Regions from separate parts of the Homo sapiens genome. Here all the other regions are linked to region 2. The links are contacts of gene promoters, found by promoter capture Hi-C in human tissues and cell types (Jung and others, 2019). All regions are on one chromosome and are shown on one strand. The core of a region is centred on a gene start or on the middle of the fragment in contact, and the rest is flanking DNA. Distances in the headings are between cores, read along the strand shown.

Evidence for each region. The method cuts DNA at HindIII sites, captures the fragments that hold promoters and counts their contacts. A contact is called where the count stands out against the background at its distance.
Region 1: a fragment that was not itself captured here is called in contact with the fragment with the promoter of TLN2 in region 2 in 2 of the 25 tissues and cell types used here (aorta and stomach).
Region 3: a contact is called between a fragment that was not itself captured here and the fragment with the promoter of TLN2 in region 2, in 3 of the 25 tissues and cell types used here (aorta, bladder and dorsolateral prefrontal cortex).

Annotation. Positions count from the first base shown.
Region 1 is chr15:62,498,192-62,501,941 of GRCh38, forward strand. The region is part of intron 1 of TLN2 (talin 2); the gene reads left to right. Among named protein-coding and RNA genes, the nearest start is that of TLN2, 110 kb to the left of the region's middle. The HindIII fragment of the contact is 4,314 bases long and covers 1-3,636 here.
Region 2 is chr15:62,389,207-62,393,005 of GRCh38, forward strand. It overlaps TLN2 (talin 2), which reads left to right and starts at 1,344. Exons shown (of 59, transcript NM_015059.3): 1 at 1,344-1,479. RefSeq lists enhancers at 764-833, 1,752-2,366 and silencers at 1,000-1,196, 1,244-1,573. The HindIII fragment of the contact is 23,885 bases long and covers 1-3,799 here.
Region 3 is chr15:62,474,503-62,478,303 of GRCh38, forward strand. The region is part of intron 1 of TLN2 (talin 2); the gene reads left to right. Among named protein-coding and RNA genes, the nearest start is that of TLN2, 86 kb to the left of the region's middle. The HindIII fragment of the contact is 4,440 bases long and covers 1-3,727 here.

The DNA.
Region 1 (3,750 bases), core at 230-2,729, 110 kb after region 2:
TTTTATACCTGTTAAAAATATAAATAAGAATTAGATTTTTAAATTCTGAAGTAAATAACCTGGTTCTTCTTACTTAACCTGAATTTGCTAAGTATCTCTTCATGATTCTGAATGGTTAGATCCTGCCAAGGCTGACCCTAAACATTTGTATAGTTTTAGTATTCGATCCTTGAGTAGTCACTGGTCAGTTCCCCAAGGGTTGACTTGCCTGTTGTTGTTTTACTGGCTACTTGGAATCTGCCTGGAAGGCCTCCTGAGGAGTTTGTTGGAATTATGCATATACAGTAATCAGAGTTCTGAGTGTAGGCAAAAGTATCTGGATTTCCTAGAAAGTGAGGGGCTGCTGGACAGTCTCTTCATTTGCCAAGGGATATTTTAAAATAACATGCTTCTGTATCGGTGGCTGTGTTCTAGAGAGCTGGGGTCACCGTAAGTCTGATGATATCCCAGTGTCTGTCACAGGAAAGTGAGGTACATCCACGTATCTACTGACCCCCAGTATCTGGTGGGATATCTTTCCCACAAAATTTGCTTCTTAGGAGGGTTTTTTTTTTCCTTATAGTTCTTTTCATATATAAATACTAATCAGTCACCAATTCATTACATTTTAGGAACAGGAGAGTCTGTGAATGACATGAAAAATTATTAAAAGGAATTTGGCGAAACTATTAAAGGAATTTACCCACTCTAAAGAGAGCTGTACAGGGGTTATTGTTCTTGTTAAACAGAGTAGAGGTCAGTTAGTGGAATGTGGAGAGTTTAAAGTCATTGCTGACTTAATGACTAGTGAAAGACCAAGAAGATATGGTCTTTGCCACTGTACTTCTTAATGACAGAATCAAAGACTTACTGTGTGGACTTTATGGAAGTCTCTAGGAGTAAACTTGATGACAGAATTTTTTTTTTCTAGGCCATGTTTATATTTTCAATCTGTTCTTTCTGCTACCTGGGACATTATTTTTATTTATTACAAAACATTGACTAGAGGGGCTCACGCCTATAATCCCAGCACTTTGGGAGGCTGAGGTGGGAACATCACTTGAGCTCAGGAGTCCAAGATCAGCCTGGGCAACATGGCAAAACCCCGTGTCTACCAAAAAATACGAAAATTAGCCAGGCGTGGTGGTGCTCACCTGTAGTCCCAGCTACTCGGGAGACTGAGGTGGGAGGATCGCTAGAGCCCAGGAGGCAGAGGTTGAGGTGAGCTGAGATTGCACTACTGCACTTCAGCCTGGGTTACACAGTGTCTCCAAAAAAATAAAATAAATAGAGAAATGGCCTGGATATGGCTTGAAACCAAGCCTCTTTTAAGCAAACGTATTTTAAAACTGAGGGGAAAGGAGACAGGGCCAACATGCCAACTGATGAATGTAGTTTGCCCCACTTTACCAGTCCTTAAATTAGCAAGGTTTCTCTTCTTTGTTTTTGAGACGGAGTTTTGCTCTTGTTGCCCAGGCTGGAGTGCGATGGCATGATCTTGGCTCACCGCAACCTCCACCTCCTGGGTTCAAGCAATTCTCCTGCCTCAGCCTCCCGAGAGTAGCTGAGATTACAGGCATGTTCCACCATGCCCGGTTAATTTTGTATTTTTAGTAGAGACGGAGTTTCTCCATGTAGGTCAGGCTAGTCTCGAACTCCCGACCTCAGGTGATCTGCCCGCCTGGACTTCCCAAAGTGGTGGGATTACAGGCATAAGCCACCGCTCCTGGCTGCAAAGTTTCAAAGTTTCTTTAAAAACAAGCAAAGAAACAAACAAACAAACAAAAAAAACAGTCAAAATTACAATTCAGGTGAGGGAGGAGGAGTGAAGGTCCAAAACAGATGGTGGGCGTTGGTGGTTTTCTCTTGTTTAAAATGAATGTAGGCCAGGCGCAGTGGCTCAAACCTGTAATCTCAGCACTGTGGGAGGCCAAGGCGGGCAGATCACCTGAGGTCAGGAGTTCACGACCAGCCTCGCCAACACAGTGAAACCCGGTCTTTACTAAAAAATACAAAAATTAGACAGGTGTGGTGGCGCATGCCTGTAGTCCCAGCTACTCAGGAGGCTGAGGCAGGAGAATTGCTTGAACCCAGGAGATGGAGGTTGCAGTGAGCTGGGATTGCACCATTGCTCTCCAGCCTGGGTGACAAGAATGAGACTCCATCTCAAAAAATAAATAAATAAATAAAATGAATGCAGCAGGGCTTTCTGGCCCAAATTGCTCTACAGAACTTTGATTGCTAGGGAACAAATATTCATTGTCTCCAGTGTGCTCAGTACATAGGCATTGTGACTGGCCTCCATACTGCAAAACAAGAAGACACCTTTGCAGTGGATTAGAATGTTTAAACTAAGTTCCAGATGGGTCAGGCAGAGTCTAACTGGCCTTTGGACCCTTGGTGTCTAGACAAAGCCAGGCTTATAGTAGGCAAATGTAAATGGAGGCAAGGGAAGAAAGATTTCATTAAGCAGAATTATCTGAGAAATGGCTGAGAAAAGACCCGAATATCTGCTATGGCAATCTCAAGTGACATCAATGCCCACTTGGAGTTGGGCACAATGTGAAATTCCTTCTTGAGGGAGCGCTGTTGGGAAAGGAATTTTTGCCTCAATTGGGCAACTTTTTCCTGCTATTTAATATGCATACTCTTCTTGAGCAGTTAAAGACGCAGAAGAAAGATAGTATTGTTTCAAGACAATTCTCCCAGGCTGCTCTTGGCCATCTTTTCTGAGTGTGCAGGCCCCACCACAGTCCCTGCAGCAACACAGTTTTGTTTGCTTAAAATTTGGTAACCTAAGGGGGCTTGAAGTCCCGCCAGGGCACTTCTGGTCCTCACAAATAGTGCCACTGAAAAACGCATCTTGTGCAAGTTTCAGAGCTTAGAAATATTCTGCTTAAATGTGCAATGCGCCATGGGGCATGTTATAGACCATCTCATTGAGCAAAAGATAAATGACCTTTCTCAGAAGGCTGAAGGAGCTTGGGACAGGTAAGCCTCCCTCTGTTCATTGTTTAAAAAAAGGAGGAACTTTTATCTCTACTTCTTGCTTCTACTTGGCCAAAAGAAGTGGATTGGGTCATCTTTTGGCATCAGGGCTATGCAAGTCCCTTTTGTTCCTATTTCTCCTGAGCAGGCCACATGTGTCTCTCTTTGCCTGAATTTCTCAAGCCTCCAGCTGAGGCCAAGGGCAGGGCTGGGGTGGACACTCATGACTGGCCATTGAGAACCCCCATCAATTTCATCCTTGATAGACTTGTACCAAAAGAGCGACCCTCCCACAAGGTTGCTGGATACACTTAGTTGTTTGGTTGGCTCTCAGAAAATGAAGCTTGCACTCACACTGCCCCGGGAAAACGTTAATTCCTGGTTAGGGCTTTTCATGATTCTGTCACACTTTGAATAGTAAGACCACTTGCTGTGGTGCAGAATATCTGGATTTCAGAAGTGGCTGACAAATATTTTTTGGAAAGGAATAGTCACAATTAGAGGGACCCATCCACACTGATGTGACAGAACCTTTGGATGTTGTTTTTTGTTTAATTGGACATAGTTATATCAACAGGATTTGAAGGTGGCAGATGATTGCATGCTCTGACTAATGAAGGCTCACTGGGCTTTTCATGTTTTTTATTTAATTTTAAGTATCTATTTTGAATAATCATGTAAGCCTTATGCCTGATTTTTGAGATGATTATTTCCAAGGTAGGGAACTTAGTGAATGGGCATCATTTCCATGGAGGGTCAAATACCAAGATACTAGCTGAAAGC
Region 2 (3,799 bases), core at 94-2,593:
ATGTTCCAACGGACTTATTCAAAATAATTTCAATTTACAAAATCAATTCAGTCTCCGGTTTATGGTGACAGCAGTTTCTTTCTCTGAGAAACACTAAAAAGTTGCCAGCAGTTCCATTTGAGTAACTGAATAGATTTGCTACCTATTTCCTGGTCCATTCTGTATTGGGATGGAAATAATGTCGTCTTTCCTTTTTTTTTTCTTTTTTGAGACAGAGTCCCGCTCTGTCATCCAGGCTGGAGTGCAGTGGTAGGATCACCGCTCATGCAGCCCCCGAGCTCCCGGGCTCAAGCGATCCTCCCACCATTCTCCCCAGTAACTGGGACTACAGGCATGCGCCCCCACACCCGGCTGATTTTTAATTTTTTTTGTAGAGATAAGGTCTCGCTATATTGCCCAGGCCGATCTTAAACTCCTTGGGCTTGAGATCTTCCTGCTTTGGCCTCCCAAAGTACTAGGAGTAAAGGGGTCATGGCTAATTCTTGTTTTTTTAAATTACTAATGTGTCCCTTACAGATAAATAAAAAAGTAAAATTACTCACAATTCCACCAATCACTGAGAGACTTATTGGTGTTTATCTATCCAGTCTTTTCTGCCTTTCTCCATAAATCACAGTTTTTAAAAACGGGACCATACGGTACATAGTGTTTTGTCTCCTCACCCCCTTGAATAACCTTCACATTGTTCCATGGTATTTACAGTATTTACTAATAATGACTGTAAATGTAAGAGGTATATAACTGACTTTATTCAGGGCATGGCAAGCAGGAGTGAATTATTTTCTTCTTATCAACACAGCACGCCCCTACCGCCACTCATCCCTATAGTCGTTCTCTAAATACCTAAGTGACACCTGACCAGCAAGGTTTCAGGGTCCTTGTGCTGAAAGGAGCAGGCTCGCCTGGGGTCACGGCCCTCCGCTTCGCAGCAAGACCCCACCGCCCACCACGGCCCTCCAGTTAGCCACAGCTCGCTTCCCCCAGGACCGGGCCAGAGGTCCCGAGAGGGCACTCTGCGGACCTAGGGGCCCCAGCCTACAAGACGCTGTGTCCTGCAGTCATCCCCTTTACACAGCAGAGCCCCAATTCTGGGAAGCCGGGGTCACCCCGAGCCTCCCTTCCCCGTGACAGCTCGGCCGGTGCATCACCTTCCCTCGCGGACCCTTTCAGCATCACCACGCGTGGGAGGAAACCCAGGACGGGCGCCTGAGCCTCGGTGGCGGCCCACCCCGGTGCCGCGCGGCGCCGCGGCCGGACCGGCGCCGCGCCGTCCCCGAATGATGACGCGCTTCCTGCCCTCCCAGCGCTCTCGGGCAGTGCGCTCGCGCTCGCCCTCGGCTCTTGTTCCGCGCCCGGAGCCAGCGGCGGCGGCAGCGGCTGAGGCGGCTGCGGGAGCGGAGTGGTCGCCCAGCGCGCGGGGGGACGCGGGCTGCACTCCCGGGCAGGCGCTCTGCAATGAGACAGTAAATGCATCCCCCGGTAAGGCGCACGGCTCACTCGGGTTTTCCTCTTCCTCCAGCTGCATGCACGTTGCATGAATTTCTCGTGTCTTTTCCCTCCCCTCTCCAGAAGGAAAATGTGGGGTTTTTTTTCCTCCCTTTTGCTTCTCGTGAGTGATGCCAATGCAGGAAAAACCCGTAAAGCTCCCAGATTTGATGGTCTAGGAGGGCTTCTTGCAGGAAAATAAAAATAAAATGAAATTAATGCACCTGTCTATTGCACATGTATGTTTCACTGCACCGGACCCGGGCGCAGCGGTTTGCAAACAGCCTCGCAGTCGGCGCCAGAGAGCGGATTCCTGGCCGTGGGCAGCCGGTCCCCTCCGGGGCTCTCGCTGGGTTTCCGGTAACTGGGCTTTGAAAAGCGGCCCCGCCTGCATAGAGTGTCCCCTCGACCCCAGCCGGGCCCCCGCGCCAGAAGAGTTGGCGCTGGAGGAGCAGCTTCATTCCAGCACTGGCCGCCGGGACTCCAGCGCCACTTTGCAAACAAGTCTCCCGCCGAGGCTCTGGGCTAAGACAGCCCGCCAGTGCGGAGTTCCTTCTCCGGTGCCGGACACTCAGACCTGCCGATCCCACGACTGCCCTTTACTTGGCAATCTCGCCACGGGCGAACTGCTGGCCGCTGAGCGACGGGGGCAGTGCCGGGCCGAGAGCGGGGCCAGGCTTTGCATCCAGTGCGGCTGGCCTCACACAGACTCAGCGGCTCCCTCTCCTTCCTCGGTCCCACGAGCTGAAATTTTGCGCCCATTGGAAGCTGGAGGGACCTGGAGACGAGTATTTCGGGATCCCTGAGGGGACCGAGGAACGACTTTCGAGGGCGCCATATTTTCAGTGGGTCTTGACTGCGGAGGGGAGGGGGCGAGCAGTTTCTGGGTCCCGGGGAGAGCCCCGCGCCCCAGTCGGAGAGGCCTGATCGGTTGTCGCCGGGAAAGTTTGCGCGCCGAGGCAGGCGCGGAGGCGGCCGCACAAGGCGCGCACGACTGCTGTCCCCGCAAGGGCGCGCGGACTACAGCGCGTCGCCACGCCAGCCGGCGGGGCTTGGGAACGAGAGCCGCCGTCACGGACAGCGTGCTGGGCTTGCCGCCTTCCTCTGTCCCGCCTGGACCCGGCCTTGGGGCTCCGAGGCTCAGGGAACACGCCCCTCTTCCCCGCAGCTACCGCTGCCCGGGTGCTCAGCCGGAGCCGTGCGCTGGGCGGCGTCCCGGGGCTGGGCGCCGAGTGTAGAGCGTTCTCCCGGTGCCCGGGCTCGCCTGGGTGCTCCGAGGGGCGCAGTAGCTCACTTCCTGGGGGAGAGGAGGCGCCTTGGTTCGTGGATCAGGACCAGGGCCTGGCCTGTGGTCGCCCCGAGGCCGCCGAACAGCCTGAGCTTCCAGTCGCCTCTTTGGCTTTAGCGGCGACAGCAGTAGCGCCCGCGGCTGCGTGTTCTGCTCTCGCAGCTCGTAGAGGCGAGGAAAGGAGGGCGTTTCCAGAAGTTGGGGCTTCAGGTGACGCGTGGGGAAACTTGGATTCTTGCTGTCCTTGAAGAGCTGGGACAACTTAGGCCAGAATTCCTGTGTCTCATAGTGAAAACTTCTGGTTCTTTCCAGAAGATGAGAGAGGAATGAACTGAAGTGTTGGCGTTGTCAAAGACATAATTAAAGACGGTTGGGTAGGGATGATGTCTTGGAGAAGTGGTCCCCAAAATACACGTAAATTGCCCTGGTGCTGTAAGTACCACTTACTTTTCCATTAATAATACCTGGGTGTGTTAAGCTGTGGCATTGTAAGGTTGCACGCTGACCTCCCTTCTCCAGAGCTTGGAGGCAGCGACCTCTCTGGAGTGAGGGGGAAGCGGGAGTGGGGAATCTTTACTTTTGAAGTAGACTGTGACCTCTGCTTTGTGATGGGACAGGGCACGGGCGTGTTTGCCAACCTACAGGCAGCCAATTGCAGGAACGTGTTCTCCTTGGAGTGTTACCGAAATGATGTCATAGTATTGAGGTTTTGTCGGCACTTCCGGTCTTCTTCACTGAAGAGGCTAGAAGGGACCACAGAAACCTCTGGGGTTGGGGGTTAGGTGTGCAGAGGGAGGGGAGAGGCTTTCCTGTGGGAGATGTGCCTGGAGATGTTAGGTGTTAGGCAGCTCTTTCCCTGATTCATTTCATGAAGCGCCTGCAAAAGTGACTCCGATATGAATGTCAGCCAAGATTTTACCTACCTTGATTGCTTATTTGGGACCTCTATGCAAAATCAGAGGATGGCGGTGGGTGTGACAAGTGGTCTTGAGAGAAGAGGGATGCCTACACGAATGCCTTTTTTTT
Region 3 (3,801 bases), core at 258-2,757, 85 kb after region 2:
GTGGCAGTGCATGCCTGTAGTCCTAGCTACTCGGGAGGCTGAGATGGGAGGATCACTTGAGCCAGGAGTTTGAGGCCGCAGTGAGCTATGATTGCACCATTGTCCTCCAGCCAGGACGGGAGAGTGAGACCCTGTCTCAAAAAAGAATAAGGAATAATGTGGAGGTTATGGTAGTGTTTTGTTTTTTAAATGGACCCTGAGGCTGTTGACGATTCCTTGAAATATGTTTGGTTTGCTTGTGTCTGAGTCGTCATTGGCTTCTCACGTTTGAGAGTGAAAGGAAAATGAGCTGTAGGTTAGACTCCGGGCTGTCCCAGGTGGAATCCTTGACGATGCTGTGGGTGGCCTTGCAGCCTTTGACTGTTCTCTGAAATCTGCATCTCACTCTCTTGACCCAGAGTAACTAGAATGCTAATGGAAAAAAAAAAAGTGGGACTGGTTGCTGCAGTTTCAAAACAAATGACCTCACTGCCTGAGTTCTACGCTATGCAAAAGAAACCCTAATTTTTGCCTTATAAATAATAATGGACCTTTGGGGAAATAGAGCCAAATACCCATTTAGTGAGGGTGGGGTATTTGGCTCTGTCTCCCTGAAGAATCGTTTAACGATTTGTCATTGCTGAAGCTTACTCCCTAGAAACAGAATGCAACCACTGTGACACCAACTTAGTAATTATTTCCTAAGAGATATGGTAATTTAAATTTATAATGACTTTCATTTCTTCAAGTTAAGAAAATAAACTTTGTATAAGCCGACTTAATGGGGACATTAATTTTCAGTTCTGTTCCAAAAGTGTAACAGAATTTTGGAATTTTCTAGCTGAAGGACACCTGAGTTTTATCACGCTCCTCGTTTTATAGATGAGTTGACTGAAGATCTGCAAAGTTAGGTGTGATCTGCTCGAGGTTGCATTGATGTGTCAGGGCTAACCGAAGCTAGAATGCAGGGGAAAGAGGCAACTATTTGGATGATTATATTTGAATTAATAACCCACCAACCTTTAAAATGCATGATTTTTTGTGGTCTCCAAGCATTTCCTGGGATGGTTCTGGTCTTGGGTGGGTAAACCTGATGTATGGAACAAGAGCTTTTCTTCTTGTTCTTATTCTTTATATCTCATAAATTCAGATTTTTGAAAAAAGTTTTTCAGTTTCCCTCTACAATTTTTAGATTTTCTTCCCCTGCTCAAATGTGAACAGTTCTTTCTTGAACTTTGTTTTTGACGAAAACCAGGAGTTTCAGTTTGGCTGGTGCAAGTCATTTGGGATTAAGGAGAGAGAACTGGGGGCATGGTTAAGATCTGGAACTGCAGGCTGCTTTGTCTCTTCAGTTAGGAGTCAGACAGAGTAAGAATAACATTTGTTTAGAAACAGAGTTTTATTAGAGTGGTAATTTACAGGTAAAATGTAAGCTTTATAGACTTGATTCTGCAATTCTATTCCTGGCCTTGCTGTTCCTCGCTGCTGATTTAGGGCAAGGCCTATCTTCTGAGTCTTGGCTTTTCTCATCTGTGAAAAGAGGGGCTTAGGCCTGAGTATTTCCAAGGACCCTTGGCAGCCATATGACTGGACTCCACGGTGGGATATTTGCAGAGAGGCTTCTCTGGAGCTGCTGCTTGTGGGCTGGCACCAAAACTGGAGGCAGAGGGTGCCAGCTGTGTTGCTGCACAGAGCCTCAGGAGCATGAACCCTGTGTGGCATTTTTCCCTCCTCCTGCTTTGTCACCTGAACCCCAGCAGTGTTGTTCAGTGCCGGGAGGATGTCGCTCACCCGCTGACACGGCTACCTGCACTGACACATGTCATTTGTGTCTTCTCTGCCAGTGCGCTGCTGCAGGGTGACATCTGGACTGGCCTCCTTGTCCCTCGGATGCTCGGCTGCCCAGAAGTTTCTGGATCAACTTGTTGAAGACCATGAGTAATCTTCATTTCTACTTCGCAAGCAGCTCTAGACCTGTGGCATCTCCAGCCAGGTCTGGCTGATGGACTCCTGCCCTCTGTGGCCAGCCTCTCTCACACCCAACTCCAAGAGCCTGGAAGATGGCAGCAGGGACTCCGTACAGGGCCCTTCTGTTGCCCCCAGCAGTCATAATGGTTTTGGGGCCTTCTGAATCTACCTTCTTGGAGCTACTTTGTTCCATCACCAGAGCCAAACCTACGAGTCCTGATTCTCTTCTTTGGCAGTTAGGGGAGTTTTGACCACTTTCCTCTCTTTCACTTTGCTCCAGCCACAATGGCCTGCCTTTACTGGCCTTCGAGAAAGCACCCGCTTTATGGTGGCAGATGCAGATGCCATTTCCTCTGTCCAACATCCTCTTGCCTGGCATGTACCTTCTCATCCATCATGTCTCATCCTAATGCCACCCCCTTTAGAGATGCTTATCTGACTACCTTGTTTCAATGTCTTCCTCCATCCCCAGGTATGCATCCTCTTTCTGTCTCTGATCCTTCCGTGTGTCTGTCTTTGCACTTAAAACAGGTTAGATCTCTTTAGTCGTTAGTAGACTGCCTATTCATCCATTCATTCAACAAATATTTCTTGAGTATTTACTATGTACCAGCAGCTGAGATAGGCACAGTCTATGCTGTCTAGAAACTTCCAATCCATGAAGAAAGACGAGATCAAGTAAAAGCCTAAGTAAACTGTCATGCTATTTGGGCAGAGTGCTTTGTTCTAATTACTCTAAAGCATCCTGGGCATCTTGTTAAAACACAGATCCTAACTCAGTAGGTCTGGGTGGGCCTGAGAGTCTGCATTTCTAACAAGATACAGGTGATGCTGCTGCCTTCTAGACCACACTTGGAGAAGTAAGGCTGTAAGCTTTTTGATGAAAATAAGACTTGTCCTGGAGTGTGACTCTTGCTGAACTGCCTGGGTGGATGTGGGTAAAGTTACTGGAGACCCTCAGGGTTTTGTCTGGCCTTGGAGTCTCTTCTAGCTGCAGGAGACTGAGTGGTCTGAGATGTGAGCCTGATTGAACAGTAGGGGAACCTGTTACCATCACCTGCATCTATGTGCTTGTCCTCCTTAAGGTTATCATAGGTTGTAGGTTTGTCCATTGAACCCTCCCTTAAATGTTGTGCTTTTCACATTCACTTGGTGGAATCCTATGGGCTCTCTCTGTAGGGTGTGTTCTGTATAAGTCAGCATTTCTGAAAATACTGCGGATGTTTGGTTTTTAAGAGCAGACTGTATCTGCTGGGCCCATGGGGCACTTGCAGTGAGATGTTGAGAATGGAGACCATACTGGAAGCTGGGGACTGGGGCAGAAACCTTCGAGCAGGTAGACTGAGGGCAGGTCAGATGCAGGGCACTGCTGTCAAAGGAGAGCCTGGGGTCCAAGCAGCAACTTGGCCCAAGGGTTGTGCTCCTGATACTGGCAGGTGGTGGGGGGGATGGAGGGGGGGGTGCAGCGGGGGCAGAGGGGAGCGGGGCGTTGCAGGCTCAACATTGTCCAGCTGCTGCAGTAGACCTTCTCAGAAACGTTGCTTTACTTTCATAAGCAGCTAAATTGATTCTCGCCCTAAATAGTTAACAGCTCTAACAGCATTCTCGGAGTACTTCCAGTGTCCTAGGCCTTGGGCTAAGTGTGTGGCACACGTTCTTGTAACTTAACCCTCCCTGCAGCCCAGGAGGCAGGTGCAGCCTCTGATTTACAGAGGACAGGACTGAAGGAACTCACCCAGTGGGTCACACAGCGAGAGTGTGCAGTCAGGATCCAGCCTGGACTATCAGACCTCATGTGGAGTTCCTTCTCTTGCTTTTAACCCCTGCATCATGACTAGAAGTGGGATTTTACAG